Linked DNA regions of Homo sapiens: region 1 is linked to region 2. Evidence: promoter capture Hi-C in human tissues and cell types (Jung and others, 2019). All regions are on one chromosome and are shown on one strand. The core of a region is centred on a gene start or on the middle of the fragment in contact, and the rest is flanking DNA. Distances in the headings are between cores, read along the strand shown. Region 1 has its middle 40 kb from the start of FAM50B. Region 2 holds the start of FAM50B (family with sequence similarity 50 member B).

Region 1 (7,106 bases), core at 4,056-6,555, 42 kb after region 2:
GCAGGAGTCAGTAGATGTGGATTCTCATCCTGCCACCCACGGTGTGATTTCAGGTAAATCCTAGGACTCTCTGGGTTCAGATTCCACACTGGTAAAATGCTTCAACCATCTCTAGGCCCTGCCCCTACACACAGTGGATGTTGGAATGCAGCAAACCTTTTACTTATTCATCTGTTGTAATTTAATGTTTTATATAGAAATATATCACGTGATTAAAAACCCAGATGTTCTAAAAGCTGTAACTTGAGAATTGCTCTTACCCGTTTCTTCCTCACTGCTGTTCTCTTACAGGTAATGACTTCTATGAGTTTCTTACATTTCCCTTTATTGAAGCACAAGCAAATACAAACACATGTTCTTGTTTCCCACCCTTTTGTACACAAAAGTGGCTTACTATGTGCAGCATTCTGTATGTTTTCTTGCTAGCTTACAGATGTATATTGAAGATGGCTCCATATTGGACCATTGGAATTCTTTACTCCTTTTTCTGTCATATGATGTCCATTAAGCTTATTTAGCTAGTTTAACGTGCTTGTTTATCTAGTCCCCTATTGATGGCTACTTGAGTCCAATGGAGCTAAATTCTATGTGCTCTATTCACTTACTGATGGCTGGAGGAAGGCAATGCTCACTATAGGAGAGGCACTATCTCTCTCTTTTTTTTTTTTTTTGGAGACAGGGTCTCGCTCTATCACCAGGCTGGAGTGCAGTGGCACAATCTCAGCTCACTGCAACCTCCACCTCCCAGGTTCAAGTGATTCTCCTGCCTCAGCCTCCCGAGTAGTTTGGATTATAGGCGTGCACCACCACACTCGGCTAATTTTTTTATATTTTTGGTAGAGACAGGGTTTCACCATGTTGGCCAGGTTGTCTCAAACTCCTGACCTCAAGTGATCCGCCTGCAGCCTCCCGAAGTGCTGGGATTACAGGCGTGAGCCACTGCATCCGGCCAAGGCACTATCTCTTTAATCCTCACAACAGCCCTGCAAGGTAGACGTTCGTTATGAACTGCATGTATCCCCCTAAAATTCACACATTGAAGCCCTAACCCCCAGTGCGATGGTGTTTGGAGACGGGGCCTTTGAGAGACAGTCAGGTTTAGATGAGGCATGCAGGCAGGGTTCCCATGATGGGATTTAGTGCTCTTATAACAATGGATACTGGAGAGTTTGCTCGCTCTCTCCCTGCTTCCCAGTCCGCCAATATGTGGGGGCACAGCAAGGATATGGCCACTTACAAGCCACAGAGAGGGCCCTCGCCAGAACCCAATGCTGGCAGCCCTGATCTCAGATTTCCGACCACCAGAACCCTGAGAATCTGCTAGCACCTTGACCTTGGGCTTCCCAGCCTCCAGCACAGTGAGAAATCACTTTTTGTTGTTTATAAGCCACCCAGTCCATGGTAATTTGTTATAGCAGCCCAATGCGCTAAAACACTGGCTGACTGCCCACAGTTGCAGTAAGTAGGGTGAGGCAGCATGGTGGGGTAGAAGGGAGGGCCAGAGTGGAGCACCCCACCAAGCGTCCTGCAGCTCCTGCATCATATGCAGGATGTGCTGAAGTTCCTGCCTGACCCATGGAGGAACCCAGAAAGTAGCCAGCTGGAGGGCTGGCACACATAGTGATGGCAGGGTGACCCTGCATCCCAAGGCATCACAAGGCTGCATTGTGGACAGCCTTGGCTAGGAGCCACATGGAGGGCACGGTAGCATGAAGAATGCCAGTGTCTGTTTTGTGCTCTAAAACAGAATACCTGAGACTGGGTAATTTATGAAAAACAGAACATTACTTCTTCATTCTCCTGGAGGCTAGGAAGTCCCAAATCAAGGCGGTGACATCTGGTGAGAGCCTTCTTGTGTGTCCTCACATGGGAGAAGGTGAAAGGGGAAGAGAGAGTGAACCCACTCCCACAAGCCCTTTTTAGAGCTACATTAATCCATCCATGAGTGTGGAGCCCTTGTGACACAACCACCTCCCAAAAGGCTGTAGCTTCCCACATTGCTGCACTGGGGATTAAGTTTCCAACACGGGAATTTAAAGGGACACGTTCAGACCATAGCAACCGGTGACAAGTCTGGTGTTGCCCCAGAGCATGGCAAAAGAGGGCAGCGGAAAAGTTGAGCTGGAGCAGGACGCAGAACACCCAGGGACTGTGAGTGGGCAGTGTTCACACCATGGAGGGCAGGCCACAGAGAAAGCTATGACTTGGGATGGAGGCAGAGGCGCCAGGGGCAGCAAGTGACACAGGAAAGCCCAGCAGTGGCAAAGGAGACCCCACGCAGATCCCGGGAAGGCTGAGGGAGAATGGGTCAAGCCATTGGGGAACAAGGTGTCCATCCTGGGAACCGTGATGGGAGCAAACTTCCTGGGAGCTCAGTTAATAGGGCTGAGAACTTAGGTGTAAGAAATACGGCAAGATTCAGCTACTAAACTCAGGGCCTGTTTTTGTTGTTGTTGTTGTTTGTTTGTTTGAGACGGAGTCTCACTCTGTCTCCCAGGCTGTAGTGCAGTAGCGCAATCTCAGCCCGTTGCTGCCTCTGCCTCCCAGGTTCAAGCAATTCTCCTGCCTCAGCCTCCCGGGTAGCTGGGATTACAGGCATGTGCCACCACACCTGGCTATTTTTTGTATTTTAGTAGAGACGGGGTTTTGCCATGTTGGCCAGGCTCATCTTGAACTCCTGACCTCAGGTAATCTGCCTGCCTTGGCCTCCCAAAGTGCTGGGATTACAGACGTGAGCCACCGTGCCCAAGGGCCTGGGCTTTGAATGAAGTCCCCTAGGCTGAGATCAAGACTATAAACACAGAGCTTGCAAGGAGGGGTTAAGGATAGCTGCGGCTGCGGCGGGCCGAGGAACATGGTGGGTGGGCAGTGTCGCCGAGAAGGCCTGCTTTTCTCTCCCCTGCCCCATGGCTATGTGTAGTTGGGGACTCCTGGCCACAGGGAGTCAAGCTGTAACCTTGACTAGGTGGCCTGGTGGAGTGCTCCAGTATCAGTTTTGGGAATGGGCATGTAGCAATGCACTGAAGCAGGCTGGACAGTCCAGGTGATGACCACACAGGTCGAGTCCATCCTCTAAATCTGCAGGTTCCACATCCTCAGATTTAACTGACCACGCATAAAAAATATTTGGGAAAAAAATTAAAATAACAATACAATAAAATTAATACAAACAAAAAAACACAGTATAACAATTATTTACACAGCATTTGTGTTGTCTTAAGTATTAGAAGTACTGTAGAGATGATTTAAAGTATACAGGAGAGCACTGTGGGAGGCCAAGGCAGGAGGATCACTTGAGGCCAGGAGTTCGAGAACAGCCTGGGCAACATAGCAAGATCCCATCTCCACAAAAAGTACACAAATTAGGCAAGCATGTTGCTGTGGGCCTGTAGTCACAGCTACTCAGAAGGCAGAGGGGGAAGGATTGCCTGAGCTCAGGAGATTGGGGCTACTGTGAGCTATGATCACACCACTGTACTCCAGCCCAGGGGATAGAGTGAAATCCTTCTCTAAAAAATAAAAATAATACATAAATAAATTAATTAAATAAATAAAGTATATAGGAGGATGTGCATAGGATGTATGTAAAGACTCTGTGATTTCATAAGCATCTTGAACACCCATAGTTTTGTATCTGCACGGAGTCCTGGAACCAATCCCCCTGGGATGCTGAGGGATGTCTGTATGTTCCCTCCAGCCATGCTGTACAGCTTGGGTAGCCTGAATAATCTCCCCTGTGACGCTACAGAACATTCCCTTAGCTCCCCAGGGTTGGAGAGGTTCTTCTCTACACCTCAGGGTCTCCCTGTGGCTGGCTGAGGAACCAGCCACTTCTTTGCAGACTGACAAGGGGCTTGTCCTGCAGGCAAAGAAGCCTATTATTTCTCTCTGCAGCTGTCCAGAGAGGCACACCCAGCTGGACACATGCTTCTCTGCTTAGTCACCAGTGGCCATACCCTAGCTTGGCACAGCTGGAGCCTCCAGGAGCCCAAACAGAAAACTCATCTGCAGACCGCACCAGCTTCACAGGCACCAGCTCGGGAGCTGAGAACTTGGCAAAAACAAGCACTGTAGTGAGTAACTGCAGCAAGCACGTGTGCACGCACACTCACGTACTCACACACACATGTGCACACCCAGACACACTCATGAAGCCATTCTGGTCAGCCCCAGATAGCATCATGCTGAACAGACACTGCCCCCTGCCCTGTCTGCTGAGCTCTTCCTCCTGCCAGAGCCCACTAGGCTGGCCTCCTCAATGCATTGCCAATCCTACAGCAGGTTCACTTGCTTTTTCATGAATCTACTAAATTGTTTGTCCTCTGGAGTTGTATTTTGACTTTGAAGCCATAATATGCAAGCAATACATTCTCCAAACACTATGAAAACGTGTTTGTATGTGGCTTGGTTCTAGTGTCTCTGCTCATGGACAAACTCTTCCGACTCACAGACTCTAAGCTGAAAGGGCTCAAAGAGTGATGTCCAACCTTTCTTTACCATAAAGAAGACTGGGTCCCAGATGTGTGGAAGGATGGCCTCTTCTATCCATTCCTTTGAAAATAATGAATCACTCTTTCTAACACAGGAAGACATTACTATAATCTGACCCAGCGACTGGGTTCTGACCCTTCACCCATTTCTGTTCAACTCCCTCAACCTTTTGGGAATTCCTGGCTCAGGCTGCCCACTCCCACTTGCTACTGGACATGTTTGTAATCAGCTTTCATCCGCCTCCCCCTCCCCACCCACCTGGGATCCTGCCATTGGCTTCCCTCTTGAAGCTTTCATTTATTCTACTTATAACTCCTAAGGAGATGCTGCGGCTTCCAGACTTTCTTATTATTGTAAAAAAATTGAGTAATTCTTACTTCATCATTTTGGCAAACTTTAGGATAATTTTATGGTAATTTCTTCCATTAAGATCTGTTCTTGCAAAGATGTATCTGCATGAGTGATGGCTCACCCCTGTAATCCCAGCACTTTGGGAGGCCGAGGTGGGTGGATCACCTGAGGTCAGGAGTTTGAGGCCAGCCTGGCCAACATGGTGAAACACCGTCTCTACTAAAAAATGCAAAAATTAGCTGGTCGTGGTGGTGTGCGCCTGTAGTCCCAGCTACTTAGGAGGCTGAGGCAGGAGAATTGGTTGAACCCAGGAGGCAGAGGTTGCAGTGAGCCGAGATTGCACTGCTGCACTCCAGCCTGGGTGACAAAGCAAGACTCTGTCTAAAAAAAAAAAAAAGTTCAAGTACTTTCTAATGGAAGTGTGTCCAGGCTGTGGGGTGGGGGAGACACAGGGGAGGAGGTGTGGGAGGAGGTGGCGGCTGTGTGGTAGGAGTTGGGGGGCAGAAGGAAGGCTCTTCTTGCCAAGGTACTATGAAGCCCAAAACACCGCTATTAAAATATGGGTATGAAGGCCTAGGCTTGACTTTGGTTCAAAGTTTTTTAGGAAGTAATTGTTTGAAATTCAAAAGCATTTTCTGTAGAAACAGTATCATAAATGGAAGATTAACTTTTCAAACAAACCCACAAAAATGTATTTAATCTTTTTACTAATTATCTTTTCACTACTATCTTTTTACTATTTAATTGCTAGCTGTGTCAAGTAGCGCTTTGACATCTGCCTCAGTTTCCTCATCTGAAAAGTGGGGACGCTGATATAGATGCCTGTCTCAGGGTTATTGGGAGGATGACATGGATTTATGTGTGTAAAGTTCTTCTCTTTTCTTTTTTTGAAATGGAGTCTCGCTCTGTCACCCAGGCTGGAGTACAGTGGCGAGATGTCAGCCCACTGCAATTTCTGTCTCCTGGGTTCAAGCAATTCTCCTGCCTCAGCCTCCTGAATAGCTGGGATTACAGGCAACTGCCACCATGCCCAGCTAATTTTTGCATTTTTAGTGGAGATGGGGTTTCAGCATGTTAGCCAGACTGGTCTCAAAATCCTGACCTCAGGTGATCCGCCCACCTCAGCCTCCCAAAGTGCTGGGATTACAGGCGTGAGCTACCGCACCCGGCCACGTATAAAGTTCTTAGAACAGTGGTAGGCCCATAATTAGGTTTACATTTATTGTTATTATTACTTGTCGCAAAACTCTAATATGCTTCAACCCCTGCTTTTAGAGCCCTGCTGAGTCTAAGGGGGGCTCAGAAGCCCCAGTGGGGTGGGACTCCCTTGGGAGGGTGAGATTCCAAGGTAGCCGCTGAGGCAGAGACGGCAGCCCAGGGGACACGAGATTGAACTGGCTGCTCCTGCCTGGAACGTTGGTCAGCTGCGTCTGTAGAGTGGAGTCTTCCTGAACTCCAGGGGAGGTTAGTCTTTGGGTCAGACACTTTAGACATGACAGAATGGAAGGGGGTGGGTGTCCTGAGACCTGGCACGGGCCATCGTGAGCAAGTGGGGGCCACTGGACAGGCTGTGAGACGCAGGGCTGTCCCCTGTGTGCCTTCCCAGGGATTGTCCCAGCCCTGCTTTTTCAAAGGCCTTGCTTGACACAGTGGGAAAGTTCTTTATCACTGCTGCGTTGGACTTTGTTGCCAACAGATTAACCCAAGGCCAACTAAGAATTACTGAGAACAAAGTCAAAGGCTTCCGAGTTCCCCAGGTCTCTCTTAGGGCCCTTGTCTTCTCTTTCCACTGCCTTTTGAGTTAAAGAACATAAAGGTGCTGGGCAGGAAGAAAGGAGACCACCTCCCAGAGGAGTGTGGTGTAGAGGAGGGGGATTCCAGACGAGGCTGGAGTTGGAAGACAGAGGGCATGGCCGGGAGGACGACCTCGGCTGCAGCGGTGGCTGTGGAGCCTCCTGGGCTCCTGTCTGCACCCCTGGTCCTGGCTTCACAAACAGCCCTTCTTACTTCTACAGATCATTTTCCTTTGAGCACTTGTCTGGCCCTTCCGTTTAGACTTCCCATTTTTAGCCTGTGTCCTCTTCACTATTATCTTAGGAGGTTTACAAAAGTGAGCACTGTATAATTATGTGTATGTTTATGTGTGATCTGAGTAATACTTTGTACTCTTCACACACACACAAGCTTCTCCTCTGTAATCTGCACATGTAGCAATTCATACTCGTAAACACAACTTCCATGACATCCCGGAAAGGGAGTTGGAG
Region 2 (7,782 bases), core at 165-2,664:
GCGGATGGTGTACTTGTCCCACTTCTTCTCGGGGTCATAGGCCTCCCAGCGGCTGGCGGGGAAGATGTGCTTGTTCTTCTCGTACCAGCTGCGCAGCACCACCTTGCCCGCGTGCGACTCGTCCTTCTCCATGGTGGCGTCGCTGAGCAGGCGCACGTCATCGTGCACATCGAAGCTGAAGAGCGGCCCGCTCTTGCCCCTCGCCCTGGCGATGATGAAGTCGTAGAAGGTGTGGTAGTGCGGCAGGATGAGGTCCTCCTTGATGAACATGAGCTGCTCCACGCCGGCGGAGCGCAGCTCCAGGAAGTCCTTGCGCAGCCCCTGCAGCGCCTTCTTCAGGAACTGCTGCACCGTGTTGCCCTTGCGCACCCGCACCGTGCGCCGGTGGCCCGAGCCGTCCCAGTAGCTGAAGGTGACCTCCATCTCCTCGTCCTTCACTTTCTCGCGCTGCGCCTCCCACTCTTGGCGCAGCTCCTCTCGGAGCCGGTTCTCCTCCTCCTCGCGGTCGCGGTCTGGCAGGAAGCTGGTGTCCACGTCGGGGTTCTTGCCCAGGTTTCCGGCGCGCCTGGCCTCGGCCGCGTCGGCCTGGTCATCGAGGTCGTCTAGTGCAAAGGACAGGCAGGAGATCTTACGCTTGCGCTCGCGCCGCTGCTCCTGCTCCCGCTGCCGCTCCTGCTGCAGCCGCTGCTCCTCCAGGTGCTGGCGCTTGGCCAGCTGCCGCTCGCGCTCCCTGACCAGGGCCTCCTGCCGGGCCTTCATGTCGTTCAGGGTCACCAGGCCCACCGTGCTGGACTTCAGCTCGGCCTCCACGGCGTCGTAATGCGCCGAGAACCTCTTGTCCACCTGCGACTTGAGGATGGTCTCCTCGGCGATGCGCTGCTTCAGCACCTCCATCTGCTCCCGCTGCCTTTCGCGCTTCTTGAGGAGGTGCATGGCACGGCCTGCCTCGCGCATGGTGCCCTTGTACTGCGCCATGGCCCGCGCCTACCCGATGGGCTCTGCAGCAAAGAGGAAAAACGCGGCAGGTAGAGGGGGGCCCACGCAACGGCGGGGAATGCTCAGCTCTGCGCCTCCTCACAGGGCTTTCGGCAGTGATGGAAGCGTTCAGGGGCTGGGCCGACCTGCTAGGGTAACCACCAACCTGACAGTGTCACCAGGCACCAATTTCCAGCATTTTATTTGACCTCAATAAATGCAAATGCGAACGGCCCCACGTAACGGGTGGCTGCCATGCCTGAGCGCAGCGCTGAATTTGGGGAGCTGCATACAGAGAGGGTTGGGCTACTGAGCGGACCCTTACCTGCCCAAGCACCCTGTCGAGCGGAGACACGCGGGAGCTGACCTCCACGAGAACCACCCACGAGCAGAGGCCCACTCGCCCCGGGCTCTCGCGACAGCCGTGGACACAGGAAGTGGAGGCGGTGCGCCCCCTGGCGGGGAGGCGGGCCCTGAGGAGAGTGCCAGGCTCCTGGTAGGGCGGCTGCGGAAACAGGAAGTGGAGGTGGATCGCCCCCTGGCGGGGAGGCGGGCCCTGGGAAGAGCTCCGGGCTCCTGGTAGGGGCGGTGCTCCTGTGGGGCGGGCCAGCGCGGGGAGGATCCTGGAGGAGGCGCTTCTGGCCCTGCCCAGCCGTGGCTGGCCGGGGCTCCTGTTTTCACGCTGTGGGCAGGGCGGGCCCCCACCTGCTGTGCGTGCGTGCTGAGCCTTCTCGTGCCCAACTGTAAACACGCAGAAGCAATGTGGGCGCAGCGCAAGCTGCTGTGGCCACCCAGAGAGCCTTGCAACACGGCCCTGCTCTCCAACCCTCCTCCTCCCGCCTCTGATGCTACCCCGCTGTGGCGTCTCGTGAACATTACCTGCGCACCACTGCCTGTAATTCTTTCTTATGGCCCCAACACAACCATTCTTTGATAATAGAACCCTACTCGCCCCCCAGTTTCGTGACAAAACCTGCACTCAGCTTGTTTGACCTCTTCTATACAGCAGTTTCCCCCGGGTTCTAAGCTCTAATAACCATGGGACACTGAGTTAAAGTGTAGCAGTGTCTTTACTGTGAGCCTCTAACATGCCAGTTTCCACTGTAACTCTCCAAGAGCAGGGCAGACCAGTTCATGTTTCGTGACCGTTTCTCCCCTGCAGGAGATCTGGTAACACTCGCCGAAACCAGTGCTTCCTGGGACCTAGTTTGGAAAAGCTGGTTGTGAAATACATACTGCGGTTCAGCCTCCTCCCGCCTAAGAGCAACAATGCCTGTGAGCATAACCTTACCAAGAAGCGTGAATCATATGATAATTACATATGGCACCCACATATCCAGAGGAGAACAGCACGGTGTGAGCCCTCATCAAATTGTCCAAGCCAGAAACCTAGGCCTTTTCCTGGAATGACGTTCCTCCACAGGTAATCAATTACAGAAGAGCCTTTCACACTTTCCTTTTTCTCCCATTCCCCACCACTTGCCTTAATCTAGGAAATTAGCATTTTTTTTAATCTAAAGCCTTCTCATTGTTGCCCCATCACCAGAATACAAGAATATCTTATTTTATTGAGCTCTGGGATACTGTGTGTTTTGTTTTTGTTTTTACAAATTGAAGATTTGTGGCAACACAGCGTCAAGCGCCTACTGGCTCCATTTTTCCAGCAGCATGTGCTCACTTCGTGTTCCTGTGTCACATTTTGGTAATTCTTGCAATATTTCAGACTTTTTCATTGTGATATCTGCTATGGTGATCTGTGATCATCGTTCTGTGAGGTTATTGTAATTGTTTGGGGGCACTCCGAAGTGTGCAGTAGAAGACAAAGACGTTTATTGATTTAACTGATAAATGTTATGTATGTTCTGACTGCTCCACTGACTGGCTGTTCCTTCATCTCTCTTCCTGTCCCTAGGCTTCCCTAGTGCCTGAGACACAGCAATATTGAAATTAGGCCAATTAATAACCCTACAATGGCCTCTAAGTGTTCAAGTGAAAAGAAGTGTCACACGTCTCTCACTTTAAATCAAAGGCTAGAAATGATTCAGCTCAGTGAGGAAAGTATGTCAAAAGCCAGGATAGGCCAAAAGCTAGGCCTCTTTTGCCAAACAGTTAGCTAAGTTGTGAATGCAAAGGAAAAAAATCTTGAATGAAACTGAAAGCGCTTTCCTGGTAAACATATGAATGATAAGAAAGCAAAACAGCCTTATTGCTTATATGGAGAAAGTTCTAGTGGTCTGGATAGAAGATCAAACCAGCCACGACATTCCCTTAAACCAAAGCCTAATCCAGGGCAAGGCCCTAAGTCTCTTCAATTCTGTGAAGCTGAGAGAGGTGAGGAAGCTTCAGAAGAAAAGTCTGAAGGTAGCAGAGGTTGGTTCATGAGGCTGAGGAAGGAAGTCACCTCTATAACATAAAGTGCAAGGTGAAGCAGCAAGTGTGATGGAGAAGCTGCAGCAGGTTATCCAGAAGATCTAGCTAAGAGCACTGATGACGGAGGCTACCCTAAACAATACATTTTCAATGTAGACAAAATAGCCTTCTATTGGAAGAAGATGCCATTTAGGACTTTTATATCTAGAGAGGAGAAGTCAATGCCTGGCTTCATGGCTTCAAAGGACAGGTTGACTCTCTTGCTAGGGGCTAGTGTAGCTGGAGACTTTCAGTTGAAGCCAATGCTCACTTACCATTCTGAAAATCTTAGTGCCCTTAAAAATTATGCTAAATCTACTGTGCCTGTGCTCTGTAAATGGAACAACAAAACCTGGAGGACAGCACATCTGTTTACAGCATGGTTTACTGAATATTTTTAAGCCCAGTGTTGAGACTTACTGCTCTGATTATTCCTTTCAAGATATTATTACTCATTAACAATGCACTTGGTCACCTAAGAGCTTGATGGAGATGCTCAAGGAGATTAAAGTTGATTTCATGCTTGCTAACACAACATCCATTCTGCAACCCATAGATCAAGGAGTAATTTTGACTTTTAAGTCTTATTATTTAAGAAATACATTTCCAAAGGTTATAGCTGCTGTATGTAATGATTTCTCTGATGGATCTGGGCAAAGTAAATTGAAATTTTTCTGGAAGGCATTCACCACTGTAGGTGCCATGAAGGACATTCACAGTTTTTGGGAGGAGGTAAAATATCAACATTAACAGAAGTTTGGAAGAAGTTGATTCAAACAGCATTACATGTTACAAAGAAATCTTTCGTGAAAGGTAGAATCAATCAATGTGACAAACTCAATATTGATTTAAGAAACTGCCACAGGCCCAGCCTTTGGCAACCACCACCCTGATCAGTCAGCAACCATCAACACTGAGGCAAGACCCTCCACCAGCAAATAGAGCACAGCTCACTGAATGCTCAGAGGATCATTAGCATTATTTAGCAATTAAGTATTTTTAATGAAATTATGCACATTATTTTCTTAGACAAAATGCTACTGCACACTTACTAGACTATAGTATAGTATAAACATAACTTTTATATGCACTAGAAAATTTAAAAATTTGTGTGACTGTCTTTGTGGTGGTCTGGAACTGAACCCACAGTATCTCCGAGGTATGCCTGTATTCTTGTTCTTGTCTAACTTCTATACAATATCCTCAGAGATCTTCATAAAAAATGAATCTGATAACATTACTCTCCTACTTGAAAAACTCCAACTTCCCTTGTAACAGCCACATCAGAATCTCTTTGTTTGTCCTCTAAGGTCTCTAATAGGTGGACCCCTGCAGCATTCACCCAGCTTTTTCACTGCGCCTGAATAGAAGATGCCCTTTCAGGCCAGGCGCAGTGGCTCACACCTGTAATCCCAGCACTTTGGGAGGCCGAGGCGGGTGGATCACGAGGTCAAGAGATCGAGACCATCCTGGCCAACATGGTGAAACCCCGTCTCTAATAAAAATAAAAATAAAAAAAATTAGCTGGGTGTGGTGGTGCATGCCTTGTAGTCCCAGCTGCTCGGGAGGCTGAGGCAGAAGAATTGCTTCAACCCAGGAGATGGAGGTTGCAGTGAGCCAAGATCGCACCACTGCACTCCAGCCTGGTGACCCAGAAAGACTTCATCTAAAAAAAAAGTTGCCCTTTCATAACTGTTACCTCTGGACGTACTCTTTCTAGAAAGTCCTGCCCTTCGCTGTGCTATCCCTGAAGATCAGCACAAATGTCATCTCCAAGAGGAAGCCTGGAGCACCCACCATCACCATCACCACCCACAGATGGACAAAATTACCAATAGTCTCCTCTCTCAGGTTTCCCATATAATTACCTTTATTACACTTAACATAAATAAGATAGCCTCTCCACCTCTTTTTTTCAGTTAAATGATCCAACCAACTAAACTTTAATTCAATCGACTATCGTTTGGCCACAAATACTATATTCACTCTTTCTCTAATCGAATCAGAACTTGAATGTCAATATCATCCCTAAACCTTATCATCCACCCTCCCATTATCCAGCATCCACCTCCTGAACTCAGTCACGGCCTCCAAATACTATAGCCAGCTCCCAGAATTAAAAGGTTGAGCCTCAAATTCTCAGAAAAGTTTAACAAGAAAAACAACTAGAAAGAAGGAGATTTATCCTAAAAGTCTGATATACTGTTCTGTAGAATTTTCCCCTAAGTTCCAAGATGATAACTTCCTCTTTCAGCCTTAATTCTCAGCGAAAATACCCACAAAACTAAAAGCTACTGCTTTAAGCTCTTAAATTTTATCAGCAAAATGAGGCTGAGGACCCGAGCCCACGCAAATGGTGAAACTTTAAGAAAGAAGAATAAATAGAACAAAAAAGAATGATTGTTCTAGTTATTCTTCCCTGATTGAGACATTATGGTTTGTTTTTCCAATAGGTTTTGTCATAAAGGAGGAAATAGGCATATTACAGAAAAGTTTGAAAAGAAATGTAAATAAATAAAAAGTTCACTCAACATGAACACATAAGTAACATAACTATTAATGTTTGCAAGTTCCCTTCCAATATTTTATGTGCACATAGATCTGTATATATTTAGCAATTTTAATCAAACTTTGCATCCCATTTGATGACTTTTTTTCCATTTAAGTTTTTTTTTCTGTTTTTGTTTTTGAGACGGAGTCTGGCTCTGTCTTCCAGGCTGGAGTAGTGCAATGGTGCGATCTCGGCCCACTGCAACCTCCGCCGGCTGGGTTCAAGTGATTCTCCTGCCTCAGCCTCCCGAGTAGTTGGGATTACAGGCGCCCACCACCACGCCCGGCTAATTTTTGTATTTTTAGTAGAGACGGGGTTTTGCCATGTTGGTCAGGCTGGTCTCAAACTCCTGACCTCAGGTGATCTGCCCTCCTCGGCCTCCCAAAGTGCTGGGATTACAGGCGTGAGCCACCTCGCCCGGTATTATTCTTGTTTTTATATAATCATCATAGTCATTGATTTAAATAAATGTGGTACATTCTATTGTTAAAAAATAAATAAATAAATAAAAGTATCAATAGCAATAATACAACAGAGGAGAGGGAGCAGCATTCTGTTCTAGTGACTCAGAAATGCCGATTAAATACACAAACTAATTTAGAAAAAAATGTGCCCTCCTCCAGGCTTAGTCACAAAGTAAAATATGCAAACAGCATCAGTGTTTTAAAAATCTCACAAAACTAAAACTTAAACTATTTTAACAAGAGAAAAAGAACTTAGTTTTCAATACAAGCAACAATAACAGACCCCCGCAAATAACACCTTTTGTCATGGTCGGTTTTCATGTTGCTTTCCACCAGTCTGAATTCTATTTTAAACGGATTATCCTACAAGTGGCAGATATACTGTCCTCTCCAGAGTCAGCCTTGAAATGAAACAGCTGATGGTGGGCCTGGCCTGGGTGTAGGGCGTGCCCCGATAGCATCTCCACTCAATGATCCCTCCAACACCACCACAGTATCCTGAACCAGTTGTCAAAGCAAAGCCACAACACCTCACATCAACCAGGTGCCAAAAAAGAACTAGTGTATGAATTCAGAATTCCGCCACCAGACCAGAAGTCCTTCAAAGGATATCTAGATAATATTATTGCACGCTTTCGAATAAAGGGTTTAAAAATGTCTTCCAACCTTTGCTTGGTGGAAAGCCAATATTTTGGCATGCAATCAGGTAGGGGTAAGGGGAAGAACCCTCACATGTTCAGAGACAAGGAAGTACAAAATATACTAGAAGGGAAAAGCTTGAACAAGAAACCTATGACTTCTATATGTGTTCCCTGGGGGAAAAAATCCACACCACGTGAGAGAGAAATGAAACCTAAGAGATGTCACAATTTCAAAATAAATGCTGCACCATAAATGTCTCTGAGCTGTAAGACCTCATTTTTTTCTTTCATTTGTATCAAAGTAATACATGTTTGATAAAACGGTTTAAAAGAATGGAACATGGTTTTATATTCTTGGTTTAAAAAGAAAAGTAATCCTGAAAGGGTTATTTTCACAAACAAAAAAGCAGTTTCCTGTCTATTTTTCTCTTCCCTGGAGGCAACCACCTCCAGTCCTTTCAGTTGCTTCTTCTGGTGTTTACCTCCTTATTTTCTAATAATTCTTACATTGCTATGTTGTGACTAATCAATTTTAAATTTTATCTACTGACTTTTTGGTTTGGTGGATGAAGATTTAATTTTTCATATGATAGATTGAAATGTCTGGCCAGGTCATTTGAAGAAGAGTGTATTATGGATGCTGTCAATTTCTAAGCCAGATAGGAAAAATGCAAGAAATTAAAGTACACGCCAATCCTAATTATAAATAGAATGGCAAAATGCCCAAACAAAATATTAACAA

The links. Contacts are between HindIII fragments. The study calls those that stand out against the background at their distance.
Region 1: a fragment that was not itself captured here is called in contact with the fragment with the promoter of FAM50B in region 2 in 2 of the 25 tissues and cell types used here (bladder and thymus).

The regions. Positions count from the first base shown.
Region 1 is chr6:3,805,911-3,813,016 of GRCh38, reverse strand. No RefSeq gene overlaps it. Among named protein-coding and RNA genes, the nearest start is that of FAM50B, 40 kb to the left of the region's middle. RefSeq lists enhancers at 2,250-2,750, 2,751-3,251. The HindIII fragment of the contact is 5,320 bases long and covers 2,646-7,106 here.
Region 2 is chr6:3,843,005-3,850,786 of GRCh38, reverse strand. It overlaps FAM50B (family with sequence similarity 50 member B), which reads right to left and starts at 1,414. Exons shown (of 2, transcript NM_012135.3): 1 at 1,301-1,414; 2 at 1-998. The coding sequence starts at 975. It overlaps LOC107986557 (a long non-coding RNA gene), which reads left to right and starts at 1,421. Exons shown (of 3, transcript XR_001743931.2): 1 at 1,421-1,471; 2 at 2,138-2,398; 3 at 4,695-6,099. RefSeq lists an enhancer at 1,231-1,350 and a silencer at 1,621-1,740. The HindIII fragment of the contact is 6,203 bases long and covers 1-5,245 here.